Regions from separate parts of the Homo sapiens genome. Here region 2 is linked to region 1. The links are contacts of gene promoters, found by promoter capture Hi-C in blood cells and fetal thymus (Javierre and others, 2016). All regions are on one chromosome and are shown on one strand. Each heading gives the region's core, a stretch centred on a gene start or on the middle of the fragment in contact. The rest is flanking DNA. Distances are from core to core; before and after follow the strand shown. Region 1 overlaps STAC3 (SH3 and cysteine rich domain 3). Region 2 holds the start of CDK4 (cyclin dependent kinase 4).

Evidence for each region. The method cuts DNA at HindIII sites, captures the fragments that hold promoters and counts their contacts. A CHiCAGO score of 5 or more calls a contact.
Region 2: a contact is called between the fragment with the promoter of CDK4 here and a fragment that was not itself captured in region 1, in 1 of 17 cell types (neutrophils). The highest score is 5.6, in neutrophils.

What each region holds. Positions count from the first base shown.
Region 1 is chr12:57,241,638-57,247,701 of GRCh38, reverse strand. STAC3 (SH3 and cysteine rich domain 3) reads left to right here. Exons shown (of 12, transcript NM_145064.3): 6 at 801-898; 7 at 2,491-2,557; 8 at 2,737-2,786; 9 at 3,080-3,165; 10 at 3,336-3,387; 11 at 3,477-3,614; 12 at 3,792-4,244. The coding sequence ends at 3,890. Among named protein-coding and RNA genes, the nearest start is that of STAC3, 6.5 kb to the left of the region's middle. RefSeq lists an enhancer at 4,571-5,474. The HindIII fragment of the contact is 8,886 bases long and covers 1-6,064 here.
Region 2 is chr12:57,751,060-57,757,123 of GRCh38, reverse strand. It overlaps CDK4 (cyclin dependent kinase 4), which reads left to right and starts at 4,814. Exons shown (of 8, transcript NM_000075.4): 1 at 4,814-4,949; 2 at 5,388-5,624; 3 at 5,782-5,917; 4 at 6,034-6,064. The coding sequence starts at 5,407. It overlaps MARCHF9 (membrane associated ring-CH-type finger 9), which reads right to left and starts at 2,021. Exons shown (of 4, transcript NM_138396.6): 1 at 1,239-2,021; 2 at 40-195. The coding sequence starts at 1,595. RefSeq lists enhancers at 1-18, 4,455-5,188 and silencers at 1,369-1,418, 1,479-1,578, 4,365-4,484, 4,715-4,794, 5,525-5,664 and 1 more. The HindIII fragment of the contact is 8,675 bases long and covers 368-6,064 here.

The sequences.
Region 1 (6,064 bases), core at 798-3,297:
TTTGTAATCCCAGCACTTTGGGAGGCCGAGGCGGGTGGATCACGAGGTCAGGAGATCGAGACCACGGTGAAACCCCGTCTCTACTAAAAACACACAAAAATTAGCCGGGCGTGGTGGCAGGCGCCTGTAGTCCCAGCTACTCGGAGAGGCTGAGGCAGGAGAATGGCATGAACCCGGGAGGCGGAGCTTGCAGTGAGCCGAGATTGTGCCACTGTACTCCAGCCTGGGTGACAGAGCGAGACTCCGTCTCAAAAAAAAAAAAAAAAAAAAAAATAATAATAATAATAATAATAATAATTTGGCAACCCTTAAAAACATATTCATTGACAAATTTGCTCAACATTTATTTGGAGGAGAGGCTGAACTCTGTGAAGAGCATGGGTGAAAAAGAAGAACCTATTGGTGGCAGCACCTCAGCTTACACATGCCATTTAGCAGAACAAAAGCCAGCAGTTAAGGGCCCATTCTCCTTAGAAGGAGAATAGTGATTCTGCGCATGTCTCAGCTCCCAAGCAAGCAAAGTTGTGTTTCAAACATCATATAATGCTCTGCCTGGAAGGAGTTCTAATAAATACTTTCCTCCCTCACTTTACATCACCAGTGATGTTTTTAAAGTCCTTTATAGATTGGTGTCCTGGGTATTGCCTAGCTGACCCTTCCCTAATCTTCCCCGCGGCGCCCCCACCGCCACCCAACACACACATGGGTATCCATCTACTCAATCCCACCTCTCCCTTCCTTTCCTCCAAGCCTTTCTCTGCCTTCCCAATAATGTCTTCTTTCTCCTCCCATTCGATTAGCTGCTGCCAATCGCAATGATCCTGTGTTTGAAACCCTGCGCACTGGGGTGATCATGGCAAACAAGGAACGGAAGAAGGGACAGGCAGATAAGAAAAATGTGAGCACTGTACCTCCCCACGAGGTCCCTCCCAGAGATCCCATGGAGCAGGTCATTTTCCCATTTGGAAAGCTGACAGAAGTAATGGATTGTCTTCCCCTAAAATTGCACAAAACTCGGCCAGGCATGGTGGCTCACGCCTGTAATCCCAGCACTTTGGGAGGCCGAGGTGGGCAGATTACCTGAGGTCAGGAGTTCGAAACCTGCCTGGCCAACGTGGTGAAACCCTGTCTCTACTAAAAATACAAAAATAAAAATAAAAAATCCGGGTGTGGTGGTGCTCGCTTGTAATCCCAGCTACTTGGGAGGCTGAGGCAGGAGAATCGCTTGAACCCGGGAGGCAGAGGTTGCAGTAAGCCACTGCACTCCAGCCTGGGGGAGAAAGTGAGACCCTGTCAAGAAAAAAAAAAAAGGAAGGAAGGAAGGAAAGGAAGGAAGGAAGGGAAAAGAAAAGATAAATGTACATATCTGATCAAAAAAATCAACTGCAAAAAACAACTAGAAATCTGGCCTCAAACTTGTTGATATGGAGGTTGGACACAGATAAGGGATTTCTATGGAGTGAATTAATGACTTGTAAGGCACTAGCAATGTGATATGGCTGCTTCCAGAAGGGCTAACATACTCTTGGGTTATATTCTTTTAAGGGAATTATAAAAATTGTGCTGCTCTTTTTTTTTTTTTTTTTTTTTTTGAGATAGAGTTTCGCTCTTGTTGCCCAGGCTGGAGTGCAATGGCACGATCTCGGCTCACCGCAAACTCTGCCTCCCGGGTCCAAGCGATTATCCTGCCTCAGCCTCCCGAGTAGCTGGGATTACAGGCATGTGCCACCATGCCTGGCTAATTTTGTATTTTTAGTAGAGAGGAGATTTCTCCATGTTGGTCAGGCTGGTCTCGAACTCCCGACCTCAGGTGATCCGCCCACCTCGGCCTCCCAAAGTGCTGGGATTACAAGCATAAGCCACCGCGCCTGACCATGCTGCTCACTTTTTACTTACACACTGGAGTATTTTTAAAGGCTGACAGCATAGTCAAGGACCTGGAATCTGGTAGTGAATTCCCTGTTATTTAGCTACATTCAAGCAGAATGTGGGTGACCCACCTGATAGGATGTTTTAGGGAAAGTCCCTGCATGGCCGGGCACAGTGGGTCACGCCTGTAATCCCAGCACTTTGGGAGGCCGAGGCTGGTGGATCACGAGGTCAGGAGATTGAGATCATCCTGGCTAACACGGTGAAACCCCGTCTCTACTAAAAATACAAAAAATTAGCCGGGCGTGGTGGCAGGCGCCTGTAGTCCCAGCTACTCAGGAGGCTGTGGCAGGAGAATGGCGTGAACCTGGAGGCGGAGCTGGCACTGAGCCAAGATTGCGCCACTGCACTCCAGCCTGGGTGACGGAGGGAGACCCGTCTCAAAAAAAAAAAAAAAGTTCCTGCATTAGGCAGATGGCTGAACTAGATATTTCCTCCAAGGCCTCTTCCAACTCTGAGATCTCTGAGATCCCATTATTCTATAGTTCTCTGACCTGATTATAGACAGCCAGGGCATGTGTTCCCAAGACAGCGTCTCCCTAACTCTGGTGCCCCCTCCAGCCTGTAGCAGCCATGATGGAGGAGGAGCCAGAGTCGGCCAGACCAGAGGAAGGCAAACCCCAGGATGGTGAGTGTTACCCACCTCCATCCAGAGATGGAGTAGGATCAGAGGCTCAGCTGTGGAACAGAGGGTGGAGGAGCAAAGGGCAGGCCAGCTTTGGATAGACGAGGCCCTTCCACAAAAGGGTAAGAGAATAAGAATTGCCCTCCAGGAGACAGACAATTTGTTGGTGTTTCCTATCCCAGGAAACCCTGAAGGGGATAAGAAGGCTGAGAAGAAGACACCTGATGACAAGGTAAGAATCCTTCCTCCCTGCAAGGAACCCAGTTCTCTCCCCAACCCAGCTCTGACACCACTACTCATGGCCCTGGCAGAAGCTCACTCTTTAACTCCTAGGCTTCCCATCACTTCTGACCCACACTCTCCATCAACTTGCACACCCACCCACGACCAAAACACTTCTCTCAGTTCAGGGACCTAGAAGAGAGTTGGAGTGTAGAGTGTGTGGTGAATGTCCCTGCCTTGGAATCCTGCCCCTCAGTGTGGGGTAGAGGAGCCCTAAGACTCATCATTCCCTTGCACCCCCAGCACAAGCAGCCTGGCTTCCAGCAGTCTCATTACTTTGTGGCTCTCTATCGGTTCAAAGCCCTGGAGAAGGACGATCTGGATTTCCCGTGAGAGGCCTTGGGGCAGGGGGCTGGTACTGCGGAGTGAAGAGGAAAGAGCTGGGTTCCCCCAAGGGAAAGGAAAAGGGGGGACTCAGGGCTTGGAGCCTATTGATGCTGGACCCGGGGCACAGCAGGGGACCTGCTATGTGAGTGAGGCCCCTCCCTTCCCCTCCCAGGCCAGGAGAGAAGATCACAGTCATTGATGACTCCAATGAAGAATGGTGGCGGGTGAGAGAAATGGCTAGGGCTAGGGTGGAGTGTGGGTTGAGTCCAGAACCCGACATTGAGAGATGGACTCTCCCTACTATCTTCCCTAGGGGAAAATCGGGGAGAAGGTCGGATTTTTCCCTCCAAACTTCATCATTCGGGTCCGGGCTGGAGAACGTGTGCACCGCGTGACGAGATCCTTCGTGGGGAACCGCGAGATAGGGCAGATCACTCTCAAGAAGGACCAGGTAGGCTGTTGCCCCAACCCAATCCCAGGCCTGAATGCTCCCTAGCCCACCACACTCCTTGGAGAGCTTAACCATTAATAAGACTAGGGTGAGCCCCTGTAAACCCCGGCTCCCCTGCTGTCCTCTCCTACCTTTTCCTTTGATTCCTCTCCTACTTCTGATCCTTTAATCTTCTAGATCGTGGTGCAGAAAGGAGACGAAGCGGGCGGCTACGTCAAGGTCTACACCGGCCGCAAGGTGGGGCTGTTTCCCACCGACTTTCTAGAGGAAATTTAGGCGTGCGGGCGCCTGCAAGCGGGAGACACCCACACCCCATTCTGGGCGGGCCCAGTGGAGTTTGGGGAGGGGGGCGAAAGCAACGGGACTGCTGGGAGAGGAGGGGTAGGAAGGCCCGCCTGAGCGCGACGGGGCTTCCGGGAAGGGACTGGTTCTCGCCCCCTTCCCCAGCCTGGGGCCTCGGATACCTGCTGCCCAGAGCAGCCCGGACCCGAAACCTTTCAGGCCCCGCTTGCAAGAGCTGGAAAAAAACGCGTATCTACTAGGAGGAGCCAGGGACTGGGGCGGGGGGCGGGGGCGAGGGAGGGCGAACTGTCGAATGTTGCGAATTTATTAAACTTTTGACAAAACTTAGAAAAGTTGTTATTTAACTGGGGTTGAGGAGAGGGCCTGCGGAGGGGTGGAGAATCCTCCCTAGCTGTCCCGCCTCGTTACCATCGGGTAACCTGAGACCCATCTGGGCTGAGGTTGGCGGGAGGTGGGAAGTGCGCCCGCCAGGTGAGGCCTCTGTAGTCAGTAAAGAAAGGGGAGCGCAGGGCTGGAGTCGCCGCCCCCGCGCCCCAGCGGTTGGGAGCAGGATCTTGTAGTAGGGTAAGTCCCCCCTTGCTCTTGGCGATTTAGCCGCAGGCAGCCCCTTGCATTTCGGAATCTGGCTTGGCGCCGAGCTAGGCCGCCAGGGGGCGATGCAAGATCTCGGTTGGAGAGCGAGGGATGGGGAGGGGGTGGAGGGTGGGTAAGGGGAGACAACCAGAGACACCAAGCCCGAGACCCTGGGCCTGGGAGGGGGTGGGGTGCGTGCCGTCTCCATGGCAACACTTCCTCAAGTCCTCCGAGAACCGAGCTAGCTAGGCCGGGGGCCTAACCCCACCCGCGCGGCCCCTGCCCTAACCCTTTCCGACAGGTACCGAGTGAGAACGGAGGGCAGACAGCTAACCGGCTCTCGCGGAGACACCCCTGCGGAGCACCGTATGCAAATGTTATTATTTGCATATGCAAATATGCAAATACGCCGGCCCTGGTCAGGGCGGCAGGTGGCGAGGAGCAGGAAGGTGTGGGGAAGGGAGCAGAAGGAGACGAGGAGTTTGGGGACCTGAGAGCGGACCCAGTGAGAGGCAGGCTGGGGTGGTCGCTGGAGTGGGGCAGGCGTGTGTGGGGGGGGTCTTGAGCTCGATGCCGGGTGGGGGAGGGTCGGCTTGGCCAGCCAGGAGCTCCTCTTCTCGTCTGCCCGTTGTCTGCCAGGACCGAGGTTGGCACCGCCTAGCAAGGTTGGCAGCGGGAGCCCGGGCACCATCTGCTGCTGGCGGGGGGAGGGCAGAGGCTCAGCTGGGCTGGGGAAGAGGAGGCCTGGGACGGGCGCGCCCCCCTTCCAGAAGGCTGAGGTGTGATGGGGGTAGGGAAGCACACAAGAAGACTCTGCAGAACCGGGTTCAGTTTTCTGTTCCCTTTGCCCTTGACGGTCCCGGATGCCTGAGGGGGTGGGGGCGGAGTCATTAAAGAAGACCCCCCCCTTTAATCGCGATTGAGCTGGAATAGGAACAGATCACAGGCAAACACACACACCAACCACACGCAAATCAAGCATTCTGTCCTTATCCTTCCTTGAAATCCACCTACCAGGAATGTATGAGGGGAGGGACCGCGAGGGCTCGGGTCGTCTCTATTCATCAAGGTCTGAGGGACTCAAAATCAGAGCCCCCCGAGATCCTCGAGAGACCCCCGCCAATGCTAAGGCAAAACCAATTTACTGGCTCATTGGGCGGCAATGCTGGTGTGCGGATGCCGAGAAGCAGGGAGAGCGGCTGTTCTCCCCCAACACTCGGGGGGCGCCCCCCTCCCTAGCCTCACTGAGCCGGCAGCTGTCCCTAATTAGAGCGGCGGTTTAATTGGATTTATCAGCAGTTAATAGGAAATTAAGCAAAGGGCCCGAGAGAAGGGGGGCGGGAAAAGCGGGGAAACAGGCTGTGCTGAACTAGAAGGAGGGGTGCTAGGGTACCAGGGGTGGGGACATGTGACCCAGTGTCCCGATCGAGCCCCACGGTCACACCCTCCCGTCATTACTCACCAAGACTCTTAAGCCCTGGCCCGCGGGCCGGAGAGCAGGTCCCCAGAGAGGGCGGCAGGCGTGACAGCGACCCTATGTGAGCTCCCAGCGCCCTCCATCCCCCTAAACGGCG
Region 2 (6,064 bases), core at 3,565-6,064, 510 kb before region 1:
GTCCTCGCCCAATCTCCGAGTCCTCTCCTTGCACCTCACCTGCAGTGGGTTCTTGGTGCTGATCGCCAGGACCTGGTACTTGAAGTAGCAGAGCTCACAGCTCCAGGAGCCCCTCTCGCTGATCCAGCGGATGAGGCAGGGCTGATGCGTGCAGCGCACTGAGCCGTCGCAGCGGCAGGGGCTTAAGAGCTCCCCCTGGAGGAAGAGTGAGGAGGGGCCCTGTCAGCCATCACCACCCCGACCCCACTCAGCCGCGCTCCCCGACAGGGAAACCTCCTCTTCAGGTCACTTTCCCACCTTAAATAACTCAGGCCTTTCACCCAAGACAGGGCAAGAGGCTAAGTAAGGCTGCAACAGAAAAGAAGCTTCCCTTGGAGATCAAGGGAAACTTCCCATACCAAAGAGATGAAAGATGGAAAGGGATGGGGGGATTAGAGGGGAGAAGGGCTGGGTCTTCTCTTTTCCTAGAATTTGGGATGGGTAGTCTTTAAGACTTCTCAAAAGAAAGGCTTCCTCTTAGGATCTGGAGGGAGGGGAGTGTTAGAGCTTCTGAGCCATGCTTTCCTTCCCCCACCCCATCATTGTAAAGTTACTTCACAGATCTGGCGCAAACTGGGATGGGTTATGGTCCTCGGTTTCCACGTACTAAAAAGGGGAGAAATCGCGGAGGTGGGAGTGAAGGGTGTTTCCCTTTAATCATGGAATCAATTCTCACTACACAGAGACACCCCCTGGCACTATTCTGGGACAACTTTGCCCATAAAATTTTAACAAAGAATACTCTTTAGAATGAGATAGAAAGTTGCAGAATGGGAAGTGAAAAAAAGTGCCCCACGGGGAGAAATACTGAGCTAAGCAAGGGCGCTGGCTGGGCCCCTCCCTTCAAGGGGGGCACAGAAGCACTCTCCTTTCTGCCCACCTGCAAGAGAACAGGTCCCCTTAGCTTACGGAGACCCTGGGGCGAGGGAAATAGGAGAGAACAGCAGTCCCTGTTAATGGGTGAGAGGGATTTTGCGCTCTCCGGGGAGAAAGCCCCACCCCTTCCTGGGGACCCTTGACCCTCCGACACAAACAAGCGCTCCAGGAGTCCCCTGCCAGCCCCTCGGCCTCACCCCATTCCCACTCCGTGTCCTGGGGCCCGCCCAGCCTCCTTAGGCGCCGCGCCTGCTCGCGGTCTCCGCTGACACCCCAGGTGCGCGCCTCCACCCTCCGCGCCCGGCCAGGTGCCCAGGCCTGACCTGCTCCGGGCCCTGGAAGCAGATCCGGCACTGAGGGGTTCGGAGTCCGCTGTCCAGGCTACTGCTGAGCGACAGGGCGTCCAGCGCGCCCGGGGGCGGCAGCGGCGGCGCGGGCGGCGGCAGGGGTCCGGCCCGCGGCTCCTTGTCGCCGGCCAGGCCCCGGGCCCGCGGCTCCGACCCGTAGTACTCCTCCTCGTCGCCGTCGCCGTCCCGGGTGGAGCAGCCAGCGAAGGGCGCCCAGCCGCAGCCGCCTCCCCGGCCCCCCCGGGGTTGCGGCTCGGCCCGGGGCCGCCCCCCGCCTGTCAGCACCAGCAGCTTCAGCTCGTTCAGAAACATGCGGAGCCGAGACTTGAGCATCGTCCGGACACCGGGGGCGGGGGGCAGCGTGCAAGGGGGGCTCGCTAGCGGCGGGGGGAGGGGAGAGGACAAGGCCGGGAAGGGGGCGCGCGCTAGAGAGCCGAGCCGGGCCGGGGTCTTCGGGGCCTGCGACAGCCGTTCACTGCTGCCACCGCCGGGGCTCCGGTGCTTGCGGGGCCGAGCGGGCTGGCGGCCCGGGGGCGGCGGGGTGGGCGGCCATGGCCAGGGCAGGGGGCGGGGAGGGGGGCTCAGGGTGCCGCACCCCGCGGGTCTGGGTCTGGAGCGGGCCGGGCCCCCGGGGTTACGCGCCCGGGTCCTCCTGCGGCGGGGCCGCCCCCCATCGCCGTTCTCTCGGTCCCAGTCCCCCTCCGGCTCCGGGATCAGGCTTGGCTCGGCCCGTGCGCTCGGCGGTGGCAAATGGCGGCTCCTTCCGGCGGCGGCGGCGGCGGAGACCCCCCCGGAGTGGCGGGCGGGCGGGGCGGGCGCCGGGGAGCGGGTGAAGGATGGAGGGAGGGGCGGGGCGGGGAGGGGGAGAGGAGAAGGGGCCGCGGCTGCGCATCCCCGCCCTGCCCCGCACGAGCAGGTGTCCCAGGGGCGGGGGCAAGTGTGGGATCCCGAGGAGGGTGGAGGAAGGGGAGTGGCCAAGGAAGGGGAGTGTGCACACAAGTTGACTAGGTGTGTGTCTGGGAGTGGGGGATGAGCGGGTGAGCATGGAAGGTGAGTGGTTAAATGACGCAGGTGTACCAGGGAGGGTGAGGCTTGTGCAAAATGGGAATGTGCAAAGAAAGAGCTGTGCAAGTGTCGGAGGTGTGAGGGAGGTACATGGGCAGGGGTGGGACTCAAGCAATATACACTTTACCCAAAGGGCTGAAAAGTGTGATCGATGGGGACTGGGAAAGAGAGGTGTGTAAGGAATGGAATCGGATTGTCTGAGAAACAGAAGCCTGTGATTGTAATGTGTGAAGGAGGTGAGGGAGGGAGCAGGGGAGGTAGGCGTGCTAAAGGGATGGGAGTGTCTTTCCTGGTACTCTCCTGCCCTCACCTCCACTACACTGAAGTGAACAATACACACACTTACCCCTTTCCTTTTATGGAGACTTCCCTCTGAGGCCAAGTTCTACCCCCATCACATTTTTTTCTTTCTTACACTTACATTCTCCCTCTCCTCCCCTTTGCAAAGCTGAGGGAAAAGGGATTCCAGGGGAGCTCATTGGGTCAAACATACTGGGAAAAAATTTAATTAGTGAAAGAGTAATTAACAGAAGAAGGGAGGGGACAGAGCCTGGGACAGACTGCCAAATTAAGGTTCCTCAATAGAAAGTGATGGAGAGACAGTAATGTTCCCATGAAGTATTCAAATGTTTTGGATGGACTAATGAATGAATCAGAAAAAGGGGCTGGGACCCAAGCAGACAGAGAGGACGTCTTCTGTTGCAAAGACAGTAAGCTGTGAAGGTCTTATGTGGAAGGTGAGGCTGAAGTGGGGAATGCTGGTGTGGGAAGGGAGTTTGAAAAACTCACAGACAATTATCTTAGCCTTCCAGAAGGCTTACAAAGCACCCACCCCTAGCAAGGTAGCCAATAAAACATTCACCTCTTGAGCCCCTTAGTCAGTTCAGTCCTTGAGGTTTTTCTTACTAGTGTTCCAGCTGCCCTTGCCAGGAGGGGCCCAGGGCTACAAGTATCAGGATGGAAAGAGGAGGCATCTGTATTAATATGTATTCTATTTTGCTCTAAGTCATGGTTTATATTCATCTTCTAGTTTGAACTCTTATATTCTCAGCCAGATGGTTAAGGAAAACAGAAGTTAGAGTGGAAGGAGTGGCAAATAGGGTAATAAAATGGCTTTAGATTTTAGACAAATTCTCACAAATGAGACACTAACCGCTTTCCTCCTTTACTCCCATACCCCCAAAGGGCTGGGAGATAAAGACCTTGGAGCCAATAAAACAAAGTAGGAGAAATCTACTTGTGTCTACCTAGGTGTCTGGGCAGAGGCCATTTGGGAACAAGTGTGTTCTGGACAGTGCTAAGTGCTAAGAAAGCGGCACTAGGGAAAAAGAGGGAAGCACAATAACTCCAAATGAGTAGTCACAAGGTTTGCAGAAGGGGGCATGTCATTTTCATTCATTGTGGTGGTCTGGAGGGTGCAGGGGGTGTGGTGGTAACTTTCTTGCACATGTGCAATCCTGTATCCGTCTTATATATGATGTGATAAATAATATCATATACATACATATATACATAGAAGCATATATGCACACATACAAATATCACATAATCATAGAACCTTCCTACTGGAAAAAAAAAAAAAACTTAAAAGGTCAAGTATTCCTGTCTCCTGCTCATCAATAACTTCTCTGCCAGATGGCCTCAGGTCTTTGCATTAACACTCCCAGGGAGGTTTGGAAGTTGGAAAAGTGAGAGGATTACCTTGTCACTGAGCCTGTTGGATTACTGTATTAATCTGCCTTCCGTCATCCTTTAATCGTAGTTTTGCCCTCAAATGGGCATTGTTTACTCCCTATTGTAGAAGACCCCATTGTTGGCTACATCTTTATAGATAGTCGTACCACTACTTTAAAGGGCCAGTGACAGACACCAAAAACAAAATAAAAACCCACATACACACTGGAAGCAAGCACTCAGTAAAATGTTGTAGAATTAATGAATGAAACAATGACACAAATGAGAGTATGTTTTCTCATGGTGGAGCGAAAAGGTGACAGCATCACCTCTGGTACCCCAACTCCCACCCCCTCCCCAATGCAGACAGGCTGAAAGACCGGTAGTGAGACTGGAGTTCAGCCTTCAGACCGGTAGTGAGACAATCCTTCAGCCGGGAGTTGGGCTCTGGGTGGCCTAGGTTGCCATGGCACCGCCTCGGGCTCCACCCTCTCTTGTCCCCCTCACCGCTCCCCCCCTGCAGCGGGGGTTGTGGCAGCCAGTCACGTGCCCGCCGCGTAGCCACACCTCTGCTCCTCAGAGCAATGTCAAGCGGTCACGTGTGATAGCAACAGATCACGTGGCTGCCATCGCCCCTCCGCCCCCTTACACTCTTCGCCCTCCTCCCAGTCGAAGCACCTCCTGTCCGCCCCTCAGCGCATGGGTGGCGGTCACGTGCCCAGAACGTCCGGCGTTCGCCCCGCCCTCCCAGTTTCCGCGCGCCTCTTTGGCAGCTGGTCACATGGTGAGGGTGGGGGTGAGGGGGCCTCTCTAGCTTGCGGCCTGTGTCTATGGTCGGGCCCTCTGCGTCCAGCTGCTCCGGACCGAGCTCGGGTGTATGGGGCCGTAGGAACCGGCTCCGGGGCCCCGATAACGGGCCGCCCCCACAGCACCCCGGGCTGGCGTGAGGTAAGTGCAGTCCCTTCCCAGGAATGAGAACCAGTGCCCGCCCCCCTCACAGCTTTCCACGCGTTCGTTTCGCGAGCTGGTTATGGAAGGGTCGCTCAAGGGCGGGAAGTGGGGCCTTTGTGGTCATGGGAAAGTATAATTTTAGGGACTGAGGTGTAGGATCTTCGATGCAAGGCATGTGTCATGTGTGATCTTTGTGCGGGGCGCGATTGTCCCAAAGGAAAAAGCGTTTTCTATTGCAGGGCCTCACGTGGCTGGAGGGGTTGGTATTGAGTCATTGTGTTATCTCTGGGGCCGGCCCCAAGGAAGACTGGGAGCGGGGGATGGGATGCTGGTGGTGTTCTTTGCGCTTTTTTTTTGGGAGTCCCTTTGTTGCTGCAGGCTCATACCATCCTAACTCTGTAAGCGACTTTTGGTGATAGGAGTCTGTGATTGTAGGGTCTCCCTTGATCTGAGAATGGCTACCTCTCGATATGAGCCAGTGGCTGAAATTGGTGTCGGTGCCTATGGGACAGTGTACAAGGCCCGTGATCCCCACAGTGGCCACTTTGTGGCCCTCAAGAGTGTGAGAGTCCCCAATGGAGGAGGAGGTGGAGGAGGCCTTCCCATCAGCACAGTTCGTGAGGTGGCTTTACTGAGGCGACTGGAGGCTTTTGAGCATCCCAATGTTGTCCGGTGAGAAGGTGGTGGAGGGTTGGGCGTGGGGAGTAAAGGGAAAAGACAGCCTATAGGTGGGGTGTGATGATCTGTAGAGAAGTGGGGACCCTGAGGAAATAATGAGAGGCCATGTTGGGTTAAAGGGGATTGAAAAGTGAGCATTTACTCTGGTCAGGCTGATGGACGTCTGTGCCACATCCCGAACTGACCGGGAGATCAAGGTAACCCTGGTGTTTGAGCATGTAGACCAGGACCTAAGGACATATCTGGACAAGGCACCCCCACCAGGCTTGCCAGCCGAAACGATCAAGGTGAGTGGGGTTGGTAGGCATTGAGAGGTGGATTGGGACCTTTGTAGTAGAACCTTCTGGGATTTCAGGTATGGTGCCTAGTTTCCAGTGCATCTGTACCTCCCCTTTGAAACTAGGATCTGATGCGCCAGTTTCTAAGAGGCCTAG